Regions from separate parts of the Homo sapiens genome. Here all the other regions are linked to region 1. The links are contacts of gene promoters, found by promoter capture Hi-C in blood cells and fetal thymus (Javierre and others, 2016). All regions are on one chromosome and are shown on one strand. The core of a region is centred on a gene start or on the middle of the fragment in contact, and the rest is flanking DNA. Distances in the headings are between cores, read along the strand shown.

What was found. The method cuts DNA at HindIII sites, captures the fragments that hold promoters and counts their contacts. A CHiCAGO score of 5 or more calls a contact.
Region 2: a contact is called between the fragment with the promoter of CCDC106 here and the fragment with the promoter of BRSK1 in region 1, in 9 of 17 cell types (non-activated CD4 T cells, naive CD8 T cells, naive CD4 T cells and 6 more). The highest score is 10.8, in non-activated CD4 T cells.
Region 3: a contact is called between a fragment that was not itself captured here and the fragment with the promoter of BRSK1 in region 1, in 15 of 17 cell types (erythroblasts, activated CD4 T cells, fetal thymus and 12 more). The highest score is 16.6, in erythroblasts.

Annotation. Positions count from the first base shown.
Region 1 is chr19:55,281,537-55,286,198 of GRCh38, reverse strand. It overlaps BRSK1 (BR serine/threonine kinase 1), which reads right to left and starts at 2,202. Exons shown (of 19, transcript NM_032430.2): 1 at 1,621-2,202. The coding sequence starts at 1,756. The HindIII fragment of the contact is 8,428 bases long and covers 1-2,908 here.
Region 2 is chr19:55,645,362-55,650,023 of GRCh38, reverse strand. CCDC106 (coiled-coil domain containing 106) reads right to left here and starts at 1,812. Exons shown (of 5, transcript NM_001370470.1): 1 at 947-1,812; 2 at 715-819; 3 at 440-616. The coding sequence starts at 977. It overlaps ZNF581 (zinc finger protein 581), which reads right to left. Exons shown (of 2, transcript NM_016535.4): 2 at 4,401-4,662. RefSeq lists enhancers at 347-396, 4,476-4,662 and silencers at 1,457-1,586, 1,617-1,736. The HindIII fragment of the contact is 17,145 bases long and covers 1-2,757 here.
Region 3 is chr19:55,603,213-55,607,874 of GRCh38, reverse strand. ZNF865 (zinc finger protein 865) reads right to left here and starts at 2,228. Exons shown (of 2, transcript NM_001195605.2): 1 at 2,143-2,228. RefSeq lists a silencer at 1,960-2,459 and enhancers at 2,503-3,054, 3,055-3,606. The HindIII fragment of the contact is 2,248 bases long and covers 806-3,053 here.

The sequences.
Region 1 (4,662 bases), core at 953-3,452:
CAGACCCCAGCCCCTCCTCCCTCAGACCCAGGAATCCAGCCCCCCCAGCCCCTTCCTCCCTCAGACCCAGCACTCCAGGCCCCCAGCCCCTCCTCCCTCAGACCCAGCACTCCAGGCCCCCAGCCCCTCCTCCCTCAGACCCAGCACTCCAGACCCCCAGCCCCTCCTCCCTTAGACTCAGCACTCCAGACCCCCAGTTCCTCCTCCCTCAGACCCAGCACTCCAGGCCCAGCCCCTCCTCCCTCAGACCCAGTCCAGGTCTGACCCCTTCTTCTCCTGTAACTCAGGAATTCAGGTCAGCAACACCTTCACACTCTTACCACTCAGGATCTGGGACTTTGACCCTCTCCTTTTCCCTAGGGTCTCAGCTCCCAGTTACGGCCCAGTCGGTCCCCACTCCTGCCAGCTCTGGCCCTGAGCTTCATAGAGACTCTGGGCGTTCAGCTCCCATGTCACCTCCACCCACCATCCATCCGGCAGGAAGGAGGCCGCGGCCGGTGGCCAGCGTTCAGCAACAGCAGAGGATGAACGCCCTTTCCACAGCCGCTCCAGGAGACGCGCCTGCTGCAGCCCACCTTCCCACCCTCCATCCTGTTTCCCACTCTGAGCCAGCATGCCAGAGAAGGGGAGAATGTCTTAGGCCCCACGGCCCCTGTCACCCCAACCTGCTGCCTGGAGAACTGGAGGCCAGAGGACAGTGGGGAGGGAAGAGGTTTCCCAGGATGGATGCACTGCACCCCGGTCTGCAGCTGTACTGCAGCAAGAACCTCAGGTCCCAGCCCGGCCCCACTCTGCAGGCCGCCTCCATCCCCTCCCTGGCCCTGGAGCCCCTCCAGCCTCTGCCCCTATGGGGACTGGAGCACTGGGGCCCCAAACTCCCTGTCCCAACACTCAAGGTTCCGACCGCCCTCCTCCCTCAGACTCAGGAGTCCAGGCCCCCAGCCCCTCCTCCTTCAGACCCAGGAGTTCAGCACCCCTGCCCCTCCTCCCTCAGACCCAGGAGTCCAGACCCCAGACCCTCTTCCTTCATACTCAGGAGTCCAGGCCCCCAGGCCCTCCTCCCTCAGACCTGAAAGTCCAGGACCGCAGTCCCTCCTCCCTCAAACCCAAAAGTCCAGGACCCCAGTCCCCTCCTCCCTCAGACCCAGAAGTCCAGACCCCCAGCCCCTCCTCCCTCAGACCCTGGAGTCCAGGCCCCCAAGCCCTTCTCCTTCAGACCCAGGAGTGCAGGCCACCAGCCTCTCCTCCCTCAGACTCCGGAGTCCAAGCACAGCCCCTCCTCCCTGAAACCCAGGAGTCCAGACCCCCAGGCCCTCCTCCCTGAAACCCAGGAGTCCAGGCCCCCAGGCCCTCCTCCCTCAGACCTAGGAGTCCAGTGCCCAGCCCCTCCTCCCTCAGACCCAGGAGTCCAGGCCCCCAGCCCCTCTCCTCCAGGACCTGAGTCTGCGCCCCCCACCCCCTCCATCCAGGGACCCAGGAGTCTGAATCCCAAGTCCCTTCTCTATGAGGGGCCCAGGGGTCTGGGCAGCCAGCCCCTGCCATTTGAATACCCTGAGTCCCGCCTCTGCCGCCACCTCCACCCTGCCCCCCGCCCCAGGTGTCCCCTTCTGCTAGGCTCACCTGTCTGTCCTTTGCCCAGCGTCTTCTCCAGCCGATAGGGGCCCACATATTGGGCGTGCTGGGGTGGGTGGGGGTGGGGGTGGGGGAGGTGGTAGGCGGGAGAGCCCCCACCTCCCTCCTTGGCCCCGGACGACATGGTGCCCTTGGTCCCGGCCCGACCGGTCCCCCGGCCGCCCCCCCTGCGGCCGTCGCCCCGTCTCTCCGGTGGGGGCCGGCGACCGCTCCGTCCCGGCCCCCCCGGCTGCCCCCCACCTCTCCGGGGGTCCCCAGGGGGCTGGGCTGGCCCCCCCCAGTCGGCGGGCCGCGGAGCTGGGGGAGGGGGGGCTGGCCCGGGGGGGTCAGGCCCCGGGAGTCAGCATGGCCCAGGGGGGCTGCGGGGCCCCCCCTCCCCAGCCCGTTTCTGGCCGGCCCCCCGCTTCCTGCGCCTCCCCCCGCCGGGGGGGTCTGAGGTGCGGGCCGGCGGATGCTGCAGGCCGAGGTCCCCCCCGCCCCCCCACGCGCCCTCTCTCCTCCGCCTCCTCCTCCTCTCCGCCTCCCCCCGCCACCTCGTCCTTTCTCTCCGGCACGCTGACATCACCATCCGGGGACTCCGGGCCCTTCCCCAAAGTTAACCCTTTCGGAGGGGGGAGGGGGAGCGAGGGGGGGCAGGGGGCGGGCCTCCAGCTGGAGGGATGGAGAGGAGGTGGGAGGATGCAGGAGAGAGGATGGAGGGAAGGATGGAGAGAGAGAGAGAGGACCCAACAGATGGGGCAGAGATGGAGATACACAAAGAGAGATGCTGGCTGACACAGAGACGGGAGACAGGCAGAGACGCCAGAGGGATGGAGACCACCAGAGACAGGCTGAGGCAGAGAGGGAGGAAGGGCAGAGATGGACAGGGACAGAAGAGAAGGAAGGAATGGCAAGCCGGGAAAACAGACAGGGAGAGGGAGAGAAAGCTGCTGGAAGCCGACAGAGGGATGGAGAGAGTCAGAGATTCAGAGAGACAGAGAGAGGAAGACCAACCAGAGAGGTGGGGGAGAGGGGGCGCAGATGGAGCTGTAGAGAGGGCCGGGGGTACACACAGGTGGAGGGACACGTGCTGGGGAGAGGTGGGGACATATGGAGGGAGACAGAGACAGAGAGGGGAAAGAATTCTTGGAGTTGCTGACCCAAAATTCATGTCTGTTTCCCCAGCCCCCTAAGGCCACCCATTCAGGGTAAGGGTAAGTCTGTGTCCCCACCAATGTCAAGGCCCCATATCTACCCACAGCCCAGAGTGATTTTGGATTCTCTTTACAGAGAAGCTTCCAGAACCCCCTCAGTTTCCCTGTGTTATGTTTTTAGACCCCCATATATTCTCTGTGCTCGTCATAGGGTCCTTTATATCTTCATGTGGACCCCAGTACAGCCCATACATCCCCACTGTAGCAGGTCCACAAGCATGTGCTCTGCCTGTGAGTAACCCGCCTGCCCCCATTAGCTTTCCGCATAAACCATAGATCCCTCTATGTCATGTACCCGCAAGTGTTAGACACCCATTTAATTCTCAAGTCCCCTGTAAAGCACACCCAGGGCTGGGCAAGGTGGCTCATGCCTGTAATCCCAATACTTTGGGAGACAGAGGTGGGAAGATCAGCCTGGGCAACACAGTGAGACCCCATCCCTACAAAAATTTTTTTAAAAATTAGCCGGGCATGGTGGCATGTGCCTGTAGTCCCAGCTACTTGGGAGGCTGAGGCTTGAGTCAGTGAGTTCTAGGCTGCAGTGAGCTACGTTTGCACCACTGCACTCCAGCCTGAGCAACAGAGTGAGGCCCTGTCTCTAACAAAAATAAAATAAAATAAAGTGCACACAGGAGCCTATTGGCTCCTGTGAGATTTCCCAGTCCCCCATTCAACACCTTGAGTCCACACATCTTTAATGAGTGCCAAATCTCAGCCAGGCACTGTTCCTGTTGGTAAGAACGTGGCAGTGACCTAAATCAGCAAAAAGGCCTGTCCTGTGGAGCTTCCATGCTGGTGGATGAAACAGATGATCAGCAAGGTCAATAGGCAAAATGTATGGTGTGTTAGATAATCATGTCCGTGCTGAGGAGGTGACTACAGCAGGGAAGGGGGTTAAGAGGGGCCTGTTGAGCAGGGTACAATTTTAGGCGTCCGGCTTTTTTTGTATTTTTAGTAGAGATGGAGTTTCACCCTGTTAGCCAGGCTGGTTCTGTAGCCTTTTTTTTTTTTTTTTTTTTTTTTTTTTTTTTTTTTTGAGACGGAATCTTGCTCTGTCTCCCAGGCTGGAGTGCAGTGGCACAATCTCAGCTCACTACAACCTCCACATCCTGGGTTCAAGCGATTCTCCTGCCTCAGCCTCCCGAGTAGCTGGGATTATAGGCACCCGCCACCATGCCTGGCTAATTTTTGTATTTTTAGTAGAGATGGGGTTTCACCATGTTGGTCAGGCTGGTCTCAAACTCCTGACCTTGTGATTTGCCCACCTCAGCTTCCCAAAGTGCTGGGATTACAGGCGTGAGCTACCACACCTGGCCTGGTTCTGTAACTATTGAGTCCCTTTTTGCTCTCAAATGTCTTGCTATAGATGAAAAATTATATGATCACCCTCTTTTTTTTGTTTTGTTTTGTTTTTTGAGACAGGGTCTTCCCCCTGTTGCCTAGGCTGGGGTGCAGTAGGGCAGTCATAGTTCCCTGCAGCCTCGACCTCCTGGGCTCAAGTGATCCTCCTGCCTCAGCCTCCTGCCTAGCTGTGATATAAGCAGATGCCATCACACATGGCTAATTCTTGTATTTTTTTGTAGGGCTGGGGACACACTATGTTGCCCAGGCTGGTCTCGAGCTCTTGGGTTCAAGTGATCCTCCCACCTTGGCCTCCCAAAGTACTGAGATTATAGACCTGAGCCACTGCCCCCGGCCATGTATTATAAACTGATAGACTTGTACATAGATGTCCGTGTCCTAATTCCCAGGATCTGTGCATAAGTTACCTTGCATGGCTGAAGGGACTTTGCCCATGTGACTGAGATAGGGAGATTATCCCAGTTATTTGGGTGAG
Region 2 (4,662 bases), core at 563-3,062, 360 kb before region 1:
GATCTTGGAGAAGACAGGGACGGGAGGAGGAGCAGGGGCCCCCTGAGGAAACCCAAAGAACTAGGGTGGGCCTCTTGGCCAAAGAGATGAAGGAAGGTCCCCCTAGGAGTCAGAAGAGAGGGGCTCTCAGGTGCCAGGGTCCCTGAAGTCACCATGGGCCAAGGAAGCAGATGGCAGGGCACTGGAGGCTGATGGGATTTGGGGAGCTGACGGAGAAGGCAGGAGGACGGGCCCCAGTAGACAGTTCATGGGGATGAGGCCCTGGAATCAAGTGAGGAGGCAGCTGGGCCTGGGGGCCCAAAACAGGCAGGGGACTAGCAGATAGGGCCAACATGGCAGGTCCCACCCAGCCAGCCAAACAGTGGAGCCTTGAGTCTGGGTGAGCGGGTACCCAGTAGCGGGACAGGGAGGCATGTGGATCAGAGCACCCCACACACACCTGCCTCCATCCGAGCAGAAGAGATGAATTTGTCCAGCTGGCACCGCAGGAAGTCCCTCTCTTCCTCCAGGTCCTCGATGCGCTTCTGCAGCCAGGAGTTCCTCTCCAGAGCCATGTGCAGCTGGGTCTTGACGCTGTTCATCAGAGCCAGGGCGGAGGACGCAGCCTCCGGAGGCTCTAGGGACACAGCGAGGGTGGGGGGACCAGGTCACACCCTGGGACTCAGGGCTTGGCTTCCCAGCTGACTCCAGTCCCTCCACACCCCCTCAGCTCACCCTCGAAGTTTCTCCGAGAGGGGCTCAGACTGTAAAAGATCTGTGGGTCTAGGTGGGGTGCCTCATCGAAGGGAATGGAGATCTCGAAGGTCTCATCGTCCTTCACTGGAGAGGAGAGGCCCCGGGTTACCCCAGAGAATTCCCCGGGCCTCTCAGGCCACCCCCCAACCACGGCAGCCTGGAGCCGACCGCACTGGGACCCAGGGTAGGGAAGGGGACCCAGCTTCCTCACTTGTCCGCCTCCGACTGCTCCGGTCATTCATGGCGCGGCTTCCTACGGACCCCAGCAGCCGAGGGCCTCAGGGGCACTGGACAGAAACGGCAGCCACAAATGGAGAGACGCAGATGGACTGGAGGGTCCATCCTGGGGGAGGTGAAGTGAGACAGGAGGGACCTTCTGGCCTGGACCCCTGGTCTGAGGGAGGAGGGAGCCTGGACCCCAGGACTGAGGCAAAACGCGCCTGGGCTTCAAACTCCTGGGCTCCTGGAGTCAGGGGCAGGGGGCCCAGCCGCCTAGGTCCTGGGGGAGAAGTGAGCTGGGGACGTGGGCTCCTGGGTATCGAAGGAAAAGGAAGCTGAAGCCCTAAATTGCTGGGTGCCCCAAGGGGTCGCCTGACCAGGGACACCTAGCCTGAAGGGGAAGGACCCTCTCTCATCGCGGGCCACTGCCAGGCCTAAGGAAGAGGCAGGTGCAGGGGGAAACTGCCCCAACTTCCCAGGGTAGGAGGAGGTCCAGCCCGTGCGCGCTGCCTCCTCTACCTTCGGGGCCCCCACACCCCTCCCCCGCACTCGCGTGGGCGGGCGGACCGTCCCCCGGTGGTGGGGGCTGGGCGCGTGCGCAGTACGGGGAAAGGTCACGCGTGGGGGTGCGCCCCCCCCGCCCCCGCCCTTTGTCCCGCGGGTGGGAGGGGGAGCGGTCGTGGAACGATTCCAGCGGGAACATGCACTAGGGCGGGGGTGCAAACGCGGCCACCATCCCCCGCCCGCGGGTGCCCGGGGTCCGAGGGGCCGAGGCCCCCCGCGCTCACCCACCCGCTCGCGGAATCCGGCTCGGGGACCGACGGCGGCGGCGCCCATGCCCGGCGCCGGGGAGCGTCTGCAAAGTGTCACGGGGAGCCGAGGGAAGCGCCCACCCACCCGCGAACAGGCGGGGCGGCAGGGGAGCGTGTCGTGGAACTGAGCGACGGAACGGGCAGGGACGCGGGGACTCGCCCAGTCGGGCCAGGCTAGCGCCCCTCGTTGAAGAGTCCCCGGGTCCAGGTGAGGCCCGCCGTTTGCGGCAGAAGCAGAGGGTCTGCACTTGCGCGATAGCCCCTTACAGCACTCCCCCGCCCTCCCCGAAGCTCAGGCAGGGAACATCACGAAATTCCCATCCTGGAGAGCTGGCGAGTCTCCGGGGGTCCCCGGATTGGGTGGCGGTGTGCCCAATGGGCCCAGAAGGCAGGAGAGTGTTTGAGACACCGAGAAAGTTGGAGCGAAAGGAGAATCTACTTTTAACGCTCTCTCAGGAACTAGCCAGCGCGGACCCCTCAGAGCTCCCCTACCTCCTACAGCCAGACCCCAAGGTTCTCAGGGATGTGGGGGCCAAAATCGGGGGAGTTACCCCTCTCCCGGAAAATGAGGGCCAGGAACACGCCACCCCCATCCCCATGTTGGTAATTAAGAGCTGGCTTTGGAGCAAAGCTAGATTCCAGTCCTGACTGTTCCTGCTCCTCCCCAGCCTGTTAACTCACCTGCAAAATGGGGAAATTACAAGCCCTTCTAAATTTATTGTGAGGATGCAGTGATGCGACACACAGAAGCTCAGCCCAGCACCTGGCCATCGTCAGGGCTGAAGAGAGGAGCGCTGCTGGTATTATTTGAGGTCAGATGGTGGGGTATGATGGCAGCCTCTGGGAGGCTCTTTCCCACTCTGGGGAGTATGAACGGAAGATTTGTTCTTCCTCCCAAAAAAACAGGTCGGAAGAGCAAATGAGGCCTAGCACAGTGCCTGGCACAAAATAGGCAAGAAAAATGAATGAATAAGCAGATGTTTATTAAGCTTCAGGCTCAGCTCCACCTGCCTCTCCTGTTCACCAGAAGCATCCAAGCTCTGGACTGTGGCCAGCCCTTATAAGAGCAAGGTCTTAACCCGATGGAGGGAGAATCTAAATGTCTGCACCGCCTGCAAAGCTGTGACCATGATCCTCCCCTCCCCACTTTACAGATTAACTGCAGCCTGGTCCAAAAATTCCAGGGGGAGCCATCTGCCCTAGATTGGTCTTTTCCAAACTACAGGTTCATGGGTGGAGAATTCAATAGAATAGGATGAAATCAGCAGTTTAAAAAAATATTTAGCCGGGCGTGGTGGTGCACACCTGTAATCCCAGCTACTCAGGAGGCTGAGGCAGGAGAATCGCTTAAACCGGGGAGGTGGAGGTTGCAGTGAGCCGAGATCGCACCACGCTCCAGCCTGGGCGACACAGCGAGACTCCGTCTCAAATAGTAATAATAATAGTTGATGGAAAAAAAAATGCACAAACTAAAGCTAACTATGGTAAAGAAATTTTTGTGGGCCGGGCGCAGTGGCTCACGCCTGTAATCCCAACACTTTGGGAGGCAGAGGGGGGCGGATCACGAGGTCAGGAGATCGAGACCATCCTGGCTAACACAGTGAAACCCTGTCTCTACTAAAAATACAAAAAATTAGACAGGCATGGTGGCGGGCGCCTGTAGTCCCACCTACTCAGGAGGCTGAGGCAGGAGAATGGCATGAACTCGGGAGGCGGAGCTTGCAGTGAGCCGAGATTGCGCCACTGCACTCCAGCCTGGGCGACAGAGCAAGACTCCGTCTCAAAAGAAAAAAAAAAAAAAAACTTTTGTTTCGAGGCCTAGTGCCCTGAGGGAGGCCGAGGTGTGTGGATCACCTCAGGTCAGGAGTTCGAGACCAGCCTGACAAACACGGTGAAACCCATCTCTACTAAAGGTACAAAATTAGCTGGGCATGGTGGCACACGCTTGTAACCCCAACTACTTGGGAGGCTGAAGCAGGAGAATCGCTTGAACCCAGGAGGTGAAGGTTGCAGTGAGCTGAGATCACGCCATTACACTCCAGCCTGGGTGACAAGAGCGAAACTCCGTCTAAAAAAAAAGAGGCCAGGCGCTGTGGCTCACACCTGGAATCCCAGCACTTTGGGAGGCCGAGGCAGGTGAATCACCTGAGGTTGGGAGTTCAAGAACAGCCTGACCAACATGGAGAAACCCCGTCTCTACTAAAAATACAAAATTAGCTGGGCATGGTGGCACACGCTTGTAATCCCAGCTACTAGGGAGGCTGAGGCAGGAGAATCGCTTGAACCCAGGAGGCATTGCGGTGATCCGAGATTGTGCCATTGGACTCCAGCCTGGGCAAAAAGAGTGAAACTCCGTCTCAAAAAAAAAAAAAGGAAACTTGGTTCACGTGTATTTTGCTTATCTGTATACTCTATTGCCATATAAAATGTGTTTGTAACAGGAGATTGTGGTTTTAAAATTGTTTCAGTTAAAAACATTCTTCCCAGATGACCCAGGTCTTCAGGAGCTGAGGAGGGGATAACCCCAAGGCAGGCCAACCTTCCCATTCCCCAGCCAGGCAAGCTGAGGTCTCCCTGCTAGACGGCCACCAAAGAGGGTCTGAGATGCTGTCTCTAAAAACAAACCTCGAGTGCTCAGAGTGGGAAACGTGTTTATTGTTTGATCAGTCTCAGGCCTGGTTGGGGGGTGGAAGGCAGGACTGGGGTCCCTTCCCCAACAACAGCGCAGAAGCCCCAGGAAGATGGCGCAGATTCCTGACGACCCACAGCCACCTTTTATGAGGCCAGAGACTTTACACACCACACTCCCCACCTCCATCCAGTCAAGGCTCTGCCATGGAACAGCTGATATCTTTAGGCTAGAGGACTCCATTCTGTGTAGGGGCTCATTCCCATC
Region 3 (4,662 bases), core at 680-3,179, 320 kb before region 1:
AGGCTAGGAAAGGAGGGAGTGATTTGCTCAAAGCTGTGAACCCTAGTGGAATCCAGGGCTCATCCTCCCAATCACTTCGCTCCTGGGGTTAGGGCGCTGTTAAGAGCAGCCCCCAAGTGGGCCACAGTTGTCCAGGAGAAGGGGAATTTTTACTCTTGTATAACTTTTTGGTGTGTGGCTTTTGGGAGGGACAAGATGACAAGACATAGGAAAATCCTGGGGGAGGCCATCCTGAACCACAGCCCCCCAGGTCTATCTCTTTATCCCGTGATATTCTGAACACGCACATATACTCTTGGTTTTTGTTTTTATTTTTTTTCACTGCAGCCTCGAACTCCTGGGCTCAAGCAGCCCTCCCACCTCAGCCTCCTGAATAGCTGGGGACTACAGGTGCCCACCAACCACACCCAGCTTTTTTTTTTTTTTTTTTTTTTTCCTGTAAAGACAGGGTCTCACTATGTTGCCGAGGTTGGTCTTGAACTCCTGGCCTCCAGCGATCCTCCCACTTTGGCCTTCCCAACTGCTGGGATTACAGGCATGAGCCACCTCGCCTGGCCTGTATTTTGTCTTTTAATCATCTGCCCCCTCAACTAGCATATCCACTCCATGAGGACAGGGATTCTTGTCTATTTTGTTCTCTGTTGTACCCCCAATGTAAAGTAGGTGCTCATTAAACAGTTGTTCAACCAGTGTTTACGAATGAACGTATGAATGAATGAAGAACATTCTGGGCTCGGTAGAGCTGACAAAGGCTAGATAATTTATCCCAGTGCCCTCACCTCCAAAGCCTTTTGAGACCAAAGCTTCCTTCCTCTTGTTCTTGCCTTCAAATCTTCCACTCCACCCTCACCGGCCTCCCCTGCTGCTCCTCCACTCACCGTGCTCACCGCCACTTCAGGGCCTTTGCACTTGTTGTTCTTGCTGCCTGCTCACCCAGATCTTTGCATGGCTAAGCTGCCACTTGTAATTCAGCTTTCACCTCTAAAGTAGTTCATCAGGCTCTCAGAGAACCCACAAAACCCCGTGTATCTTTGTCGACTCGTGTCTGATCAACTAGACTGTGAGACCCCGCACAGTGAGAACACTGTGTGTATCGACCCCCTTCGTGGCTGTATATTATACCCTTCAGCTAGAATAGTGAATATGCGTTCAACGCAGAAGGAATGCCTACGAGAAAAGAAGTCACACCCTAGTGAAGTCCAGGGTCTTCCCTAGGGAGTCCAGGACGATAGCCTGAGAGCTGGGTGAGAAGCTGCAGGTCAGGGCAACAGTTGTTCACGCCATAGGAAGAGGATGAGGCACATTCTGGGAAGGAAGGCTTCACCGCCTCACTGCGGGACACTGTTCTGTGGCAGAAGTAATGAAGACGGGCTGACCGCGATGAGGGTGGGGTGAGAGGAGGTACGGGAGTATGTCATGGGAGCCTGGAGCTAAGCAGGCGGATATTTCTACCTGAGGCGGGAGAGGATGTGAGTGTGAAGGAACTCTAGAGGGAGCTGTGCCGCTGCGATGGGGGGGTGGCTTTGAAAGGGGCATTCTTAAGGGGAATCACTGGAGGACCTGCAGAAGGGAAAAAGGCATTCTTGGTGCTGACCAGAATAGAAAGTATTTTCACACCCACGAAGGGGCGTTCTGCTGGGGAGGGAGGTGGTCAGGGCCATTGGGGGCTGTTGCTGTATGGACAGAGATAACGGGGGACAGTTCTGCTGCAAGGCACTAAGGAAACACTCTGGGGAGAATTATATAGAGGATACTAATAAGAGGGTTCACGAGCAGCTGCCCTACATGGGGAGGGGCAATGCTGATGGCATCTGGAGGCTGACCTGGAGGAAGCAATGACGGGGAGCGCTATGTGGAGGGGATCCTACGAGGAGGTATCATTTGGGGGCCCTGGCAGCCGTTTAGGGGATCGCCACGAATGAAAGCGCTTTGGCAGCCATCCTAGCTGGGGGCGTTCATGGGGGAGCTATCTGCAGTGATCCTACCGGGGAGCAGTGATTGGGGGTCCCTTGGCAAGGGCCCGGCGGGAGCTGCACTGACTTGCTAGGGGTTGGGGGACGTTCTGGGGACCACAGCGGGCCAGGGCGGGGCCCCCCGCCCCCGCTGCACCCGGGCCCCCGGGCCACGCACCCCGTCACTCACCGGCGCCGGGGTCTCCGCCGGGAGGAGGCCGAGGAGGCGGAGGAGGCGCCGCCGCTCCGGGGAGACCCGAGGGCCCGACCGGAAGTGCCGCCCCCTCCCCCCTCCCCGGCAGCCCCGCACCGCCCGCCTGCCCGCCCGCCCGGAAGCGGAAGTCGCGCCCGTTCCCGAGGCGCCGGCGTGGAGGATCGGAAAGAGGAGGCGGTGGCGGGGACCAGGAGGGGGGAAATGCGCTTGCGCACTGACTCGGGGACGCGAGCAGTGAAAGCCCGGGCCGATTCCGGTGGGCGAACTGAGCCAGGTGCGCCTGCGCTTTGAATGCCCGCCTCTTCTACGGGAACCCCGCGACACGCTCTGGGCGTCCGGTTAAGCCACACCTCCGGCTCGGGTCTCACACTGAAGCCCCGCCCCCTGGCCCTGAACCACGCCCATCTCACAGCGTGATTATAAGCCCCCTACTGCCTCAAAGTCTGTCTTCGTCCCCTCGCCCTCATGCAGTTTCTCCTGTTCTTCCCCCTCTCCAAGCTCCCACTCTCTGGAACTTCACCCCTCCCTAGGCCCCGCCCCCTCCATCCAAGCCCCGCCCCTTCACCCCATAGCATTTAAGTTGCACCTCGTGACTTTTGAGTGCCTCCCACCTCTAAAGCATTCTTTTAAATCGGTGGTTGTCAAGGATAGTTGGGAGGCCAGCAGCATCCGGCTGCCTGCTCAGACCATGCGGAATAGAAGCCCTGGGGTTGGGGGTCTAGGGATCCGTGTTTTGAAATACTCTGATTCTGCTGCATGCTGGTCAAGAGCCATGGATTTACCACACTTGACACTGCCCGCTCATATAATCGCTATAATCCCGGCTCCCAACTCAGCCCCATCCCAAACAGCCAAACCCAGACCCATTCAGCCCCTCCTGCTAAGCTTCCACTCTCCCAGGAACTTCCCTTAGATTAAGTACTTCCTTCTCTCCCCATCGCCTCCATAGCAGTCGTGCGCCCCCATCAGCACCTTCTAAGTCCCACCTCCAATACCCTGTTCCCTCAGAGTTTCTCCTTTAAGCCCCGGCCCCCGGCCCTCGGCCCTGAACCACGCCCACCTCAGAGCTGAATTATTATAAGCTCCGCCCCTCACCTTAAAATCCGTTCTCTTGGCCTGGCGTGGTGGCTCACGCCTGTAATCCCAGCACTTTGGGAGGCCAAGGCAGGCGGATTGCTTGAGCACAGGAGTTCAAGACCAGCCTGGGCAATATGGCAAAACCCCGTCTCTACAAAAAAAAAAAATACAAAAATTAGGCTGGACGCGGTGGCTCACGCCTGTAATCCCAGCACTTTGGGAGGCCGAGGCGGGTGGATCACGAGGTCAGGAGGTCAAGACCAGCCTGGCCAAGATGGTGAAACCCCGTCTCTACTAAAATTACAAAAATTAGCCAGGCGTGGTGGCGGGCGCCTGTAATTCCAGCTACTCGGGAGGCTGAGGGAGAGAACTGCTTGAACCCGGGAGGCAGAGGTTGCAGTGAGCCAGATTGCCCCACTGCACTCCAGCCTGGACGACAGCAAGACTCCGTCTCAAAAAAAAAAAATTAGCTAAATATGCTGGCGCCCGTCTGTAGTCTCAGCTACTCCGGAGGCTGAAGCAGGAGGGTCGCTTGAGCCTGGCAGGTCGAGGCTGCAGTGAGCGGTGATAGGGCCACTGCACTCCAGCCTGGATGACAGAGCGAGACCCTGTCTCAAAAAAAAAATTATCCGTCCTCCTTGCCCCACTCTCACGCAGTTCCTCCTGTTCTTCCCCAGCTCCAAGCCCCTACTCTCTATTAGATCAACTCTATCCATCCTCTTTAAACCGCTCTCACTTTCTGCGGACCAACCCCTAAACCTCTTTAAGCCCCACCCAACTCTAACCCTCTTCTAAGCCCCCGCCCCAGGTCCCAGCCTAACTGCCCCGCAATCTCAGCCCCACCCCTCGCTCCTTAGCCCCGCCCCAATCCACACCCCTTATCTCTAAACCTTACCCAGACCGTCCTGCTCATACCTTTGTCTTAATTTTTCCTTCCAAACAGTAGGTCCTCAGGACAAGGAGGTGGGGCAAAGTGGCTGCAGAATTTCTGGGAATTGGCTAGGAGAGAGGCGGTCGGACCTACAGTCAGGTCTGCATGGAAGGTTCAATGTTTTTAGTTAGATTGGATGTGTACTGGGAATACAGCTGACCCTTGAACAACAGGGGTTTGAACTGCAGGTCCATTGAGAGGCGGACGTTTTTTCACCCAAACACCGGTGGAACATACAGTATACGAAGGGCGGATTTTCCTACATCCGCGGGTTCCGCAGGGCCCACTGCTGGACTTGTGTATGCCCAGATCTTGGTATCTGCGAGGTTCGTGGAACCAATTCCCCGCGGACTCCGAGGGACCCATGGACTTTGGGGTCTGATGGAGATGGGGAAGGGGCCAAGGTTCCCCCCAAAACCATTCTTTGGCGAGCACCACGCTCATGAGGCACAGGAAGTGGGGTCCTCTCCAATTCCCCGCACTCCCGA